Linked DNA regions of Homo sapiens: region 1 is linked to region 2. Evidence: promoter capture Hi-C in human tissues and cell types (Jung and others, 2019). All regions are on one chromosome and are shown on one strand. Each heading gives the region's core, a stretch centred on a gene start or on the middle of the fragment in contact. The rest is flanking DNA. Distances are from core to core; before and after follow the strand shown. Region 1 has its middle 490 kb from the start of POTEA. Region 2 holds the start of HGSNAT (heparan-alpha-glucosaminide N-acetyltransferase).

What was found. Contacts are between HindIII fragments. The study calls those that stand out against the background at their distance.
Region 1: a fragment that was not itself captured here is called in contact with the fragment with the promoter of HGSNAT in region 2 in 2 of the 25 tissues and cell types used here (lymphoblastoid cells and mesendoderm cells).

The regions. Positions count from the first base shown.
Region 1 is chr8:43,777,238-43,781,870 of GRCh38, forward strand. No RefSeq gene overlaps it. Among named protein-coding and RNA genes, the nearest start is that of POTEA, 490 kb to the left of the region's middle. The HindIII fragment of the contact is 5,824 bases long and covers 1-4,633 here.
Region 2 is chr8:43,137,598-43,142,593 of GRCh38, forward strand. It overlaps HGSNAT (heparan-alpha-glucosaminide N-acetyltransferase), which reads left to right and starts at 2,867. Exons shown (of 18, transcript NM_152419.3): 1 at 2,867-3,017. The coding sequence starts at 2,900. RefSeq lists an enhancer at 1,529-1,823 and silencers at 2,667-3,456, 3,467-3,846. The HindIII fragment of the contact is 19,681 bases long and covers 1-4,996 here.

The sequences.
Region 1 (4,633 bases), core at 505-3,004, 640 kb after region 2:
CAGGTTGGAAACACTCTTTTTGTAGAATCTGTGACAAGATATTTGAGAGCCCATTAAGGCCTATGGGAAAAAACTGAATATCCCCAGATTAAAACTAGAAACAAGCTATCTGTGAAACTGCTTCTGAAGTGTGGATTCATCTCACAGAATTAAACCTTTCTTTTGATTCTGCAGTGTGGAAACACTGTTTTTGGAGTATACACAAGCAGACATTTTGTAGCCCATTGATCATTATGGTGAAAAACCGAATATCCCCAAATAAAAACTAGAAAGAAGCAAAGTGTGAAACTGCTCTGTGATATGTGCATTCCTATCCCAGAGTTAAATTTTTCCACTAATTCAGCAGGTAGGAAACACTATTTACGGAGAAACTGTGAAGGGACAGTTGGGAGACCATTGAAGTTATGCCCAGATAAACAGAATATGCCCAGATAAAAATTAGAGAGAAGCTATCTGTGAAATTCTTTTGTGATGTGTGGATTCGTCTTAAAGAGTGAAGCCTTTCTTTTGAGAATCTGTGAAGGGACATATTTAAGCCATTTGTGCATTATAAGAAAAACTTGAATATCCACAGATAAAAACTAGAAAGAACCTATCTGAGAAACTGATTTCTGTTGTGTGGATTCATCTCACAGAGTTAAACCATTCTTTTGATTCAGCACTTTGAAAACTCTCTTTCTGGAAAATCTGTGAGGGGACATTTGGGAGCCCATTTAGGCTAATGGGGAAAAATGGAATATCTCTATATAAAAACTAGAAAGAAGCTTTCCATAAAACTGCTTTGTGATGTGTGGATTCATCTCCTGAAGGCAAACCTTTCTATTCATTCCACCAGTTAAAAACACTATTTTTGGGGAATCTGCAAAGGGACATTTTGGAGCCCAATGAGACCACGGAGAAAAGCCAAATATCACCAGATTAAAAACTAGAAAGATGCTATTTGTGAAACTGCTTTGTAATGTGTGGATTCATCTCAGAGTTAAATTTTTCTTTTGATTCAACAGGTTGAAAACACTCTGTTTGTAGAATCTGCTAATGGACATTTGAGAGCTCATTGAGGCCTACAGGGAGAAACTGAATATCCTGAGATAAAAACTACAAAGAAGCTATCTGTGAAACTGTTGTTTCAAGTATGGAATTATTTCAAAAAGTTAAATCTTTCTTTTGAGTCAGTAAGTTGGAAATACTCTTTTTGGAGAACTGTGAAAGGACATTTTAAAATCCACTGTGGTCTATGGAGAAACCTGAATATCCCAAGATAAAAAGTAGAAAGAAACTGACTGAAACGACGTTGTGATATTTGTATTCATCTCACAGAATTAAACCTTAGTTTTGAATAAGTAGGTTGGAAACACTCTTTTTGCAGAATCTGAGAAGAGATATTTGGGAACCCATCAAATGCCTATGGGGAAAAACCAAATACCCCCAGATAAAAGTTAAAAGAGGTATCTGTGAAACTGCTTTTGTGAGGGGATTCCTCTCACAGAGTTAAAGTTTTCTTTTGATTCAGTAGGTTGGAAACACTCTTATTGGAAAATCTGTGAAGGGACATTTACTTGCCATTGAGGTCAAAGGGGAAAAAGTGTATATCCCCTGAAAAAAGCTAGAACGTAGTTATCTGTGAAACTGCTTTTGTAGGTGTGGATTCGTCTAACAGAATTAAAACTTTCCTTTGATTCAGAGCTTGGAAGCACAGACATTTGGAAGCCATGTGAAGGGACATTTGGAAGCCCATTGAAGCCGAGGAGAAAAACTGAATATCCTAAGATAAAAACTAGAAAGAAGCTTTCTTTGAAACTGCTTTTTGATGTGTGGATACATCACACAGAATTAAAACTTTGTTTTGATTCAGCAGAGTGGTAATCCTATTTTTGAGAATCTGCAAAGGGACATTTCAGAGCTAATTAGCCCTATGTGAAAAAAAAAGAATATTCCCAAAGCAAAACTAGAAAGAAACTATCTCTGAAACTGCTTTGTGATGTGGTGATTCTTCTCACAGAGTTAAACCTTTCTTGTGATTCAGCAGGTTGCAAACACTCTTTTTGGAGAATGTGTGAAAGGACATTTGGAAGCACATTGAGGTATATGGATAAAAAGGAAATATCCCCAGATAAAAACTAGAAAGAAGCTATCTGTGAAGCTGTTTTGTGATATGTGGATTTATCTCACAGAGTTAAACCTTTCTTTTGATTCAGCAGGTTGGAAACACATTTTTTGGAGAATCTCCGAAGGCACATTTGGGAGCCCATTGAGAGCTAAGGGGAATAATCGAATGTCCACAGATGAAAACTAGAAAGAAGTTATGTGTGAAACTGCTTTGTTCCATGTGGATTCCTCTCACAGAGTTAAATCTTCCATTGAGGCCTATGGTGGAAAACAAAATATCACAGATAAAACTAGAAAGAAGCTATCCATGAATCTGCTTTGTTATGTGTGGACTCCCATTACAGAGTTAAACATTTCTTTTCATTCAGCAGGGTGGAAACACACTTTTTACAGAATTTGTGAAGGGACATTTGGGAGTCCATCAGGGCCTAGGTGAAAAACTGAATATCCCCAGATAAAAATAGAAAGAAGCTACCTGTGAAACTGCTTTGCAATGTGTGGATTCATCTTAGAGAGTTAAAACTCTCTTTTGATTCACCAGCTTGGAACCACTCTTTTTGGAGGATCTGTAAGGGACGTTTAAGCAACCAACAAGGCCTACTTGGAACAACAGAATATCCCAAGATAAAAACTAGAAAGAAGCTATCTGTGAAACTGCTTTGTATTGTGTGGGTTCATCTCACAGAGCTAAACCTCCGTTTTGATTCAGCAGGTTGGAAGCACTCTTTTGGTAGAATATGTGAAGAGATACTTGGGCGCCCATTGAGGACTATAGAGAAAAACCAAATATCTCCATATAAAAGCTAGATAGAAGCTATTTGTGAAACTGATTTGTGATGTGTGAATTCAAATCACAGAGTTAAAACTGTTTTTTGCATCAGCAGGTTGGAAACACCCTTCTGATTGTATGTCAAGAGACAGTCTCTAGTCCACTGAGGTCTATGAAAATAAAATGAATGTCGCCAGATAAGAAGTAGAAAGAAGCTATATGAGAAACTGATTTGTGATTTTTAGATTCATCTCACAAAGTTAAAACTTTCTTTCAATTCAGCACGTTGGAAAGACTTTTTTTGGAGAATCTCTGAAGGGACAGTTGAGAGCCAATTGAGGCCTATGGCACAAAACTGAATATCCCCAGAAAAAACTAGAAAGAAACTATCTGTGAAACTGCTTTGTGATATGTGGATTTATCTCACAGAGTTCAACCTTTCTTTTGATTCAGAATGTTGGAAACACTCTTTTTGGAGAATCTGCGAAGAAACATTCTGGAGCCCATTGTCGCCTATGGGGAAAAACAGAATATACCCAGAAGAAAATTAGAAAGAGGCTATCTGTGTAACTGCTTTGTGATTTGTGGATTCATCTCAAAGAACTAACCCTTTCTTTTGATTCAGCAGGTTGGAAACACTCTTTGGAGAATCTGCAGAGAGACATTTTGGAGCCCAGTGAGATTTATGGGGAAAAACCAAATATCACCAGATAAAAACTAAAAAGAAACTATCTGTGAAACTGCTTTGTGATATGTGCATTCATCTCACAGACTTAAACTTTCCTTTTGACTCAGCAGGTAGAAAGCACTGTTTCTGGAGAATCCTTGATGGAATATTTGGGAGCCCTTGAGTCCTATGGAGGAAAATCAAATATCCCAAGAAAAAAAATTGAAATAAGCTGCTTAGTGATTTGTGGATTCATCTGACAGAGTGAAACCTTTCTTTTGATTCAGCATCTTGGAAACAATATCTTTGGAGCTCCTGTGAAGGGTCATTTTGGAACCCACTGGGGACTACGGGGAAAAACTGAATATCTCCAGGTAAAAACTAGATAGAAACTATCTGTGAAACTGCTTTGTGATGTGTGAATTCCAGTCACAGGGTTAAAACTATCTTTTGCTTCAGCAGGTTGGAATCACCCTTTCTGATTATATGTGAAGGGACAGTCTCTAGTCCATTAAAGTCTATGAAAAAAAAAGAAATGAATATCACCAGATAAGAAGTAGAAAGAAGCTATGTGAGAAACTGATTTCTGATTTTCAGATTCATCTCACAAAGTTAAAACTTTCTTTCAATTCAGAGCATTGGAAACACTCTTTTTGGAGAATCTGTGAATGGACATTTGGGAGCCCATTAGGCCTATGGGGAAAAACAGAATAACCCCAGATAAAAACTAGAAGGAAGCTACCTGTGAAAGTTTTTGTGATGTGTGGATTCACCTCACAGTGTTAAACCTTTCTTTTGATTCACCAGGTTGGAAACACTGTTTTTGTAGAATCTGCAAAAGGACATTTGGGAGCTCATTGTGGCCTATGGGGAAAAATCGAATACCCCAAGATAAAAACTATAAAGAATCTATCTGTGAAACTGTTTTCTGATGTGTGGATTCATCTCACAGAGTTAAGCCTTTCTTTTTTTCATTTTTATTATTATACTTTAAGTTTTAGGTTACATGTGCAGAACGTGCACACATAGGTTTATTGTGGCACTATTCACAATAGCAAAGACTTGGAACCAACCCAAATGTCCAACAATGA
Region 2 (4,996 bases), core at 1,617-4,116:
TGCTTGTGAACCAACCAGCAATCTCCAGCTGCAGCTCAGAAAGAACAAGAGGGATGGGTAATGTAAAAAAATCTGGATTAGTATTCTAGTTATGAGCAATTATCCTGCAAATTCTGCTAGGCAATGGGAATAAATAGGGTGCCCATCATCCAGAGGTTTCCTTTTGGGAAAGTAAGACCAAGGGAGCTAACCAAAGCCAAGCACCATGCACCCAAATCCTACCAAACATAACTGTAGCCACCAGTTATCTGGGTGTGTCACAAGACATCCTTTTCTCTCCCTTGTTGGAGGACTCAGTTCCACAGTTTTTCCTTAGCATTTGGCTTACGAGAAGGAGTCCATGCAACCCCTCAACCCCTGAGCATAAGTGAGGTCTAGGGAACTCCAAGACTACTGACAGCAGGGGTGATAGGGCATTCATGGGTAGAGGAGATAATTCCCACCCTCTAGACCCCTGCTTCATGGATGCAAGCCATTTTGGCACCCATGGTAGCACTTTCGAAGGTTGCATGGGGATGCAAGGATGGAAGAGGACGCTATTCCTTCTATCCCTCACGTACCCCAGGTATTTGCTAGGAAAAGAACCAGGGATGCCTGCTCCCCTCTTTCTATGTGGGTAGCCATTTATCTTCAGTCTGCACCACTTTCAAATGCATCTGGAACCCTTCGGATTCCTTTGAAAAAATGCCTTCTTTTTTCCTTTCTCCTCCTCGGTTCACAATGACAATCCTAATTGTGTCTCCATACTATGGGACACTCCCCTCAGATGCATTTTCCAAACTGGAAAGAGTTAATTTCCTAAACCTTAAACTGGCTGGCTTAGGATTGGTTTCAGGGGAAGGGAACCCAGAAGCCCAACATGCCAGCAAAAGGGTAAAGTTGTTTACCATTCGGACTTTTGGCCCCCTTCTCCGTGTACAAATTGGTAAAAAGCCTCAGGATTTTTGAGCTGTCCTTATCCCTCCCCTTGTTTCTTTTCTTTTCTTTTTTTTTTTGAGACAGGGTCTCACTCTGTCGCCCAGGCTGGAGTGCAGTGATGTGGTCTTGGCTCACTGCAACCTCCGTTCAAACGATTCTCCTGCCTCAACCTCCTAAGTAGCTGGGAGTACAGGCAGGCACCACCACTGCTGGCTAATTTTTGTATTTTTAGTAGAGACAGGGTTTCACCATGTTGGCCAGGCTGGTCTTGAACTCCTGACCTGCCAGGCTGGAGTGCAGTGGCATAATCTTGGCTCACTGCAAACTCTGCCTCCCGGATTCAAGTGATTCTCCTGCCTCAGCCTCCCAAGTAGCTGGGACTACAGGTACTTGCCATGACGCCCGGCTAATTTTTTGTATTTTTAGTAGTGACAGGGTTTCACCATGTTGGCCAGGATGGTCTCGATTTCTTGACCTCGTGATCCACCTGCCTTGGCCTCCCAAAGTGCTGGGATTACAGGCGTGAGCCACTGTGCCCGGCCATATGTGTTTAATAACCCAGTTTGTCTCTTCTTGCCTTCAGGACATCAAACGGTCATGCTACTGGAAGCTCGGACCATGGCCCCTTCTGCTGGGCACCCTTAGATAGGCCTCTGAGGGAGATCTGATTGCCATTTTCCCGAAACAGTGCCCCCTATCAGCAGGAAGCAGTTAAGATCTGTCTTTGTCCCTATTCTTATCCTAGTGGCAGTTAGATAGACTTCTTTAGAGCGAGGAATGAGCCAGATGGGAAGGGTTCCCTGGTAAAACTCCAACTGGCCTGTGCACTGCTCTGGGGTGGAGCCACAGAAGTTCGCTCCTCAGTTTGCAGCTGGGAGGAGCCTGGCCCTCCTCTTCCTCGGGAGAACCTGGGATTTAATCTGTGAGGTGGGAAGCCTACAACTAGGAGAACTCTGGCTCTGCTGAGTCCCTGTTCCCCTTTTTCTTCCTTTACACCCAATAAAACCCTGCCTTACCCTTCAAATTGTCTGCGAGCCTAATCTTTCCTGGCGTGTGACAAGGACCTCCACCGTCTTTAGCTGAACTAAGGAAAAGTCCCGCAACATTTTCATGTGTGCCTTTGTATTTTTATTACATATATGGATGTCCCTAAACAACATACATTATTGTTTTGCTTTATATATTAAAAAGGCATTCTGCAATTTGCATTTTCCCCAGCCTTGTGTTTTGAGATTTATCCATGTGGATGCGGGAAGCTGTAGAGCACTTCCCCTGCTGTGGGGCAGTTTGTTTTCTCGCTGGCGGACATTCAGCTTGTTGACAAGGTTTTGCAATTACAAGCACCTCTGCTATAGGTATTACTGTACCTGTCCCTTATACCTGCGATAGTGTCTCCCGGCATACAGCCAAGAATGGGTGTGCACACTCCTCGACCTGCTCCCTTCCACTTCGTCAGCCTGGCCGGGGGCTCTTTCAAGAGGTGGGGCCGCTTGGTGGCTTCTAAGTCGTGCCTCTCCCTCTGGGTAATAAACGCCTTGGGGGCAGGGACTTTGCAGTCTTGCTTATTGAGGCGTTTTCCAAAACAGGGACCGAGGGCTCTAACACCCGTGCGGAGGGTGGCCGGCGGGGGCGGGAGTTTGGCAGAATGCGGCTGGAGAAGGTGGGGCGAGGGAAGAAGGCTCCTGGCCTGCAGGGGCCTCTCTTCCGGCTGTTTTTCCTCCCGAAGACAAACACTCCCAACGCAGGGGCGCAGAGCCTCGGCTTCTTTCCTGGCCAGCTCCCTCAAGGCAGGGCCTAGCATGGCCCGGCCCAGCCCCTAGGTTCCCCCGCCCGCGGCTCCCGGGCGCCTCCGCCTCCCGCGGTGACTCAGGCGGCGGTGACGGCAGCGGAGGGGGCGATGACGGGCGCGCGGGCGTCCGCGGCGGAGCAGCGCAGGGCGGGGCGCAGCGGGCAGGCAAGGGCGGCCGAGCGGGCGGCGGGCATGAGCGGGGCGGGCAGGGCGCTGGCCGCGCTGCTGCTGGCCGCGTCCGTGCTGAGCGCCGCGCTGCTGGCCCCCGGCGGCTCTTCGGGGCGCGATGCCCAGGCCGCGCCGCCACGAGGTGAGTGCACACCTCCTACCGCCGCCCGGCCGGCTACGAGCGCAGCGTCTCCTCTCCGCGGCGCCGCCCCTATCTCCGTGCGCGGCGCCGAGCGCTAGGCCGGGCCGGAACCGCCCCCGTGGCCTGGGCTGTTGCTGCGACTTCGCGGTCCCGCGCCCCAGACCGGAGGCCGGACTTCGGGGTGCTGCGGCCGGGCCCCGCGGAGGCGGGGGAGGGGGCGGTTCGGACCGCGGCGGAGTGGAACCTGGGCGCCCAGGCGGCGCCCACCCCAGCGGAGCCTGCGTCCTGGCGCCTTCCGTCTAAACAGAGGCCGCGGATCGGGACGCCGGGACCCCACAAACTGGCAGCCAGGAGGCGGGCCAGCCGAGGATCGGGGGGGCTCGGACTCCCCCTGCACCCAGTCCACTGTTCGGAGGGACTTAGAGCAGGGTCCCTTCCCTGAGGGCCTCGCCCCCGAGGACGTGGCGCCGGAGCCGTGCGACCCATTGGCTTCAGCGGGTGGGAAGCCTGGGGCCGGGACGCGCGTTCGCCCCGCGCTGGGGTTGAACCTGCGTGGATGTGCGGCGGGTGAGGAACCGCGGAGAAGGCGGTGGGGGCGCGGCCTGCAGCCCGGTCCCGGGCGAGCCCTCCGCGCGTCTCCCCTCGGCGCGTTTTCCCTCCAGGGTGACTGGGAAGCCGCCGCCGCCGCCGCCGCCGCCTGGGAGGGGCCGGGCTGGGCGCTTTTGCCCCGGGCCCCGGACCCCGGGCGTTTGTCCGGTGCGCTGGCTTAAGAGGCGCTCAGCTCATACCGTGATTGCACAACTGGCTTGCTCTCCGAACTCGGTGGGGAAAACGGTGACAAATACAGATTCCAGGTCTCCATCTAGACCCCTGCACCGGGGAGCCCCAGGCCCTAGGTCCTTCGCACACGCCCCTCCCAGAGGGGTCGGGCAAGCATCGCAAACCCCTTTGGGTAGGAGGGACGGTGGGAGTCACCTGTCTTTCCCCTCTCGCGCCCTTTTCTTGGTCAGAATACGAAGTTTTAGTGTCTGTGTATGGAGTTCAAACGACCCCTCCTCTCCAAGCAGAAGCTGGAGGAGAAAGGCGTTGTGAATTTTGGAAAAGCGGCTCAGAGGATTACATTTTGTGCGATCCTTGATCCACCCAACCTTCATCTCCTGCGCTCCCCTCCTTTAAAATTGCAAGGACCCCGGGGAGGTTATGTAATCTGCCTGATCACAATTTGTCAGGGACTGATCCCGCCGAACACTCTTTGCATTTTAGCGCCAGTATTAGCTTATCAAAGGGCACTTACTTTTAGAGAGAGGTGGTTTGTAAATAGTAATCACACGTAGTGAGGGGAAGCCGCGTTGGGACCGCAAGGCTTTCCCTGTCACCTGGAGCCCATGTTTGGGCCGCACAGCTTTCCTACTAAAAACGTCATCATCTTCCTTCTTTTTGAAAATTCAGCATTTGCTTGAAGAAAAAAAAAAGTAGACTATGTCTTTAAAAATATGCCCAGCAAAGATAACTCACGAGCAGAGAGCTAGACCAGAAATTAAATATTTGGAAAGGAAATAAAGGTGTAATACACAAGCAGCACATTTATCCCCGCACCATTGGAAGGTGACTTTATTTGGTAATTTGCCCACCAAGACGAGGTAGACCAGAGGAGAGAGAAGGAAATAATTGTTCTTTTGTCTGTAACGCTCTGGGGGTATTGCCCTGGAATTTCTTAGGTCAGCTGCTGTGTGGGAAGGTGACAGCTTTTTCTTGAAGCTGAACATCAAGCTCAGTTTCGAGGTCATATTTGATGACTTATTTGATGGCTTAGTAATTGGGTCCTTTGGTCGTGTCTGTAAGTGATACAGACTGTTATTATTATTTTTAAAAACCACATTCAAATAATGCAAAGTGAAAAAAAAAGGTGTCAAAATCCGCTGGCGTTACTCTGACAGTCTCTAGCTGTGGTTCCCTAGCTGTGGTCTTCACCCTCGGCT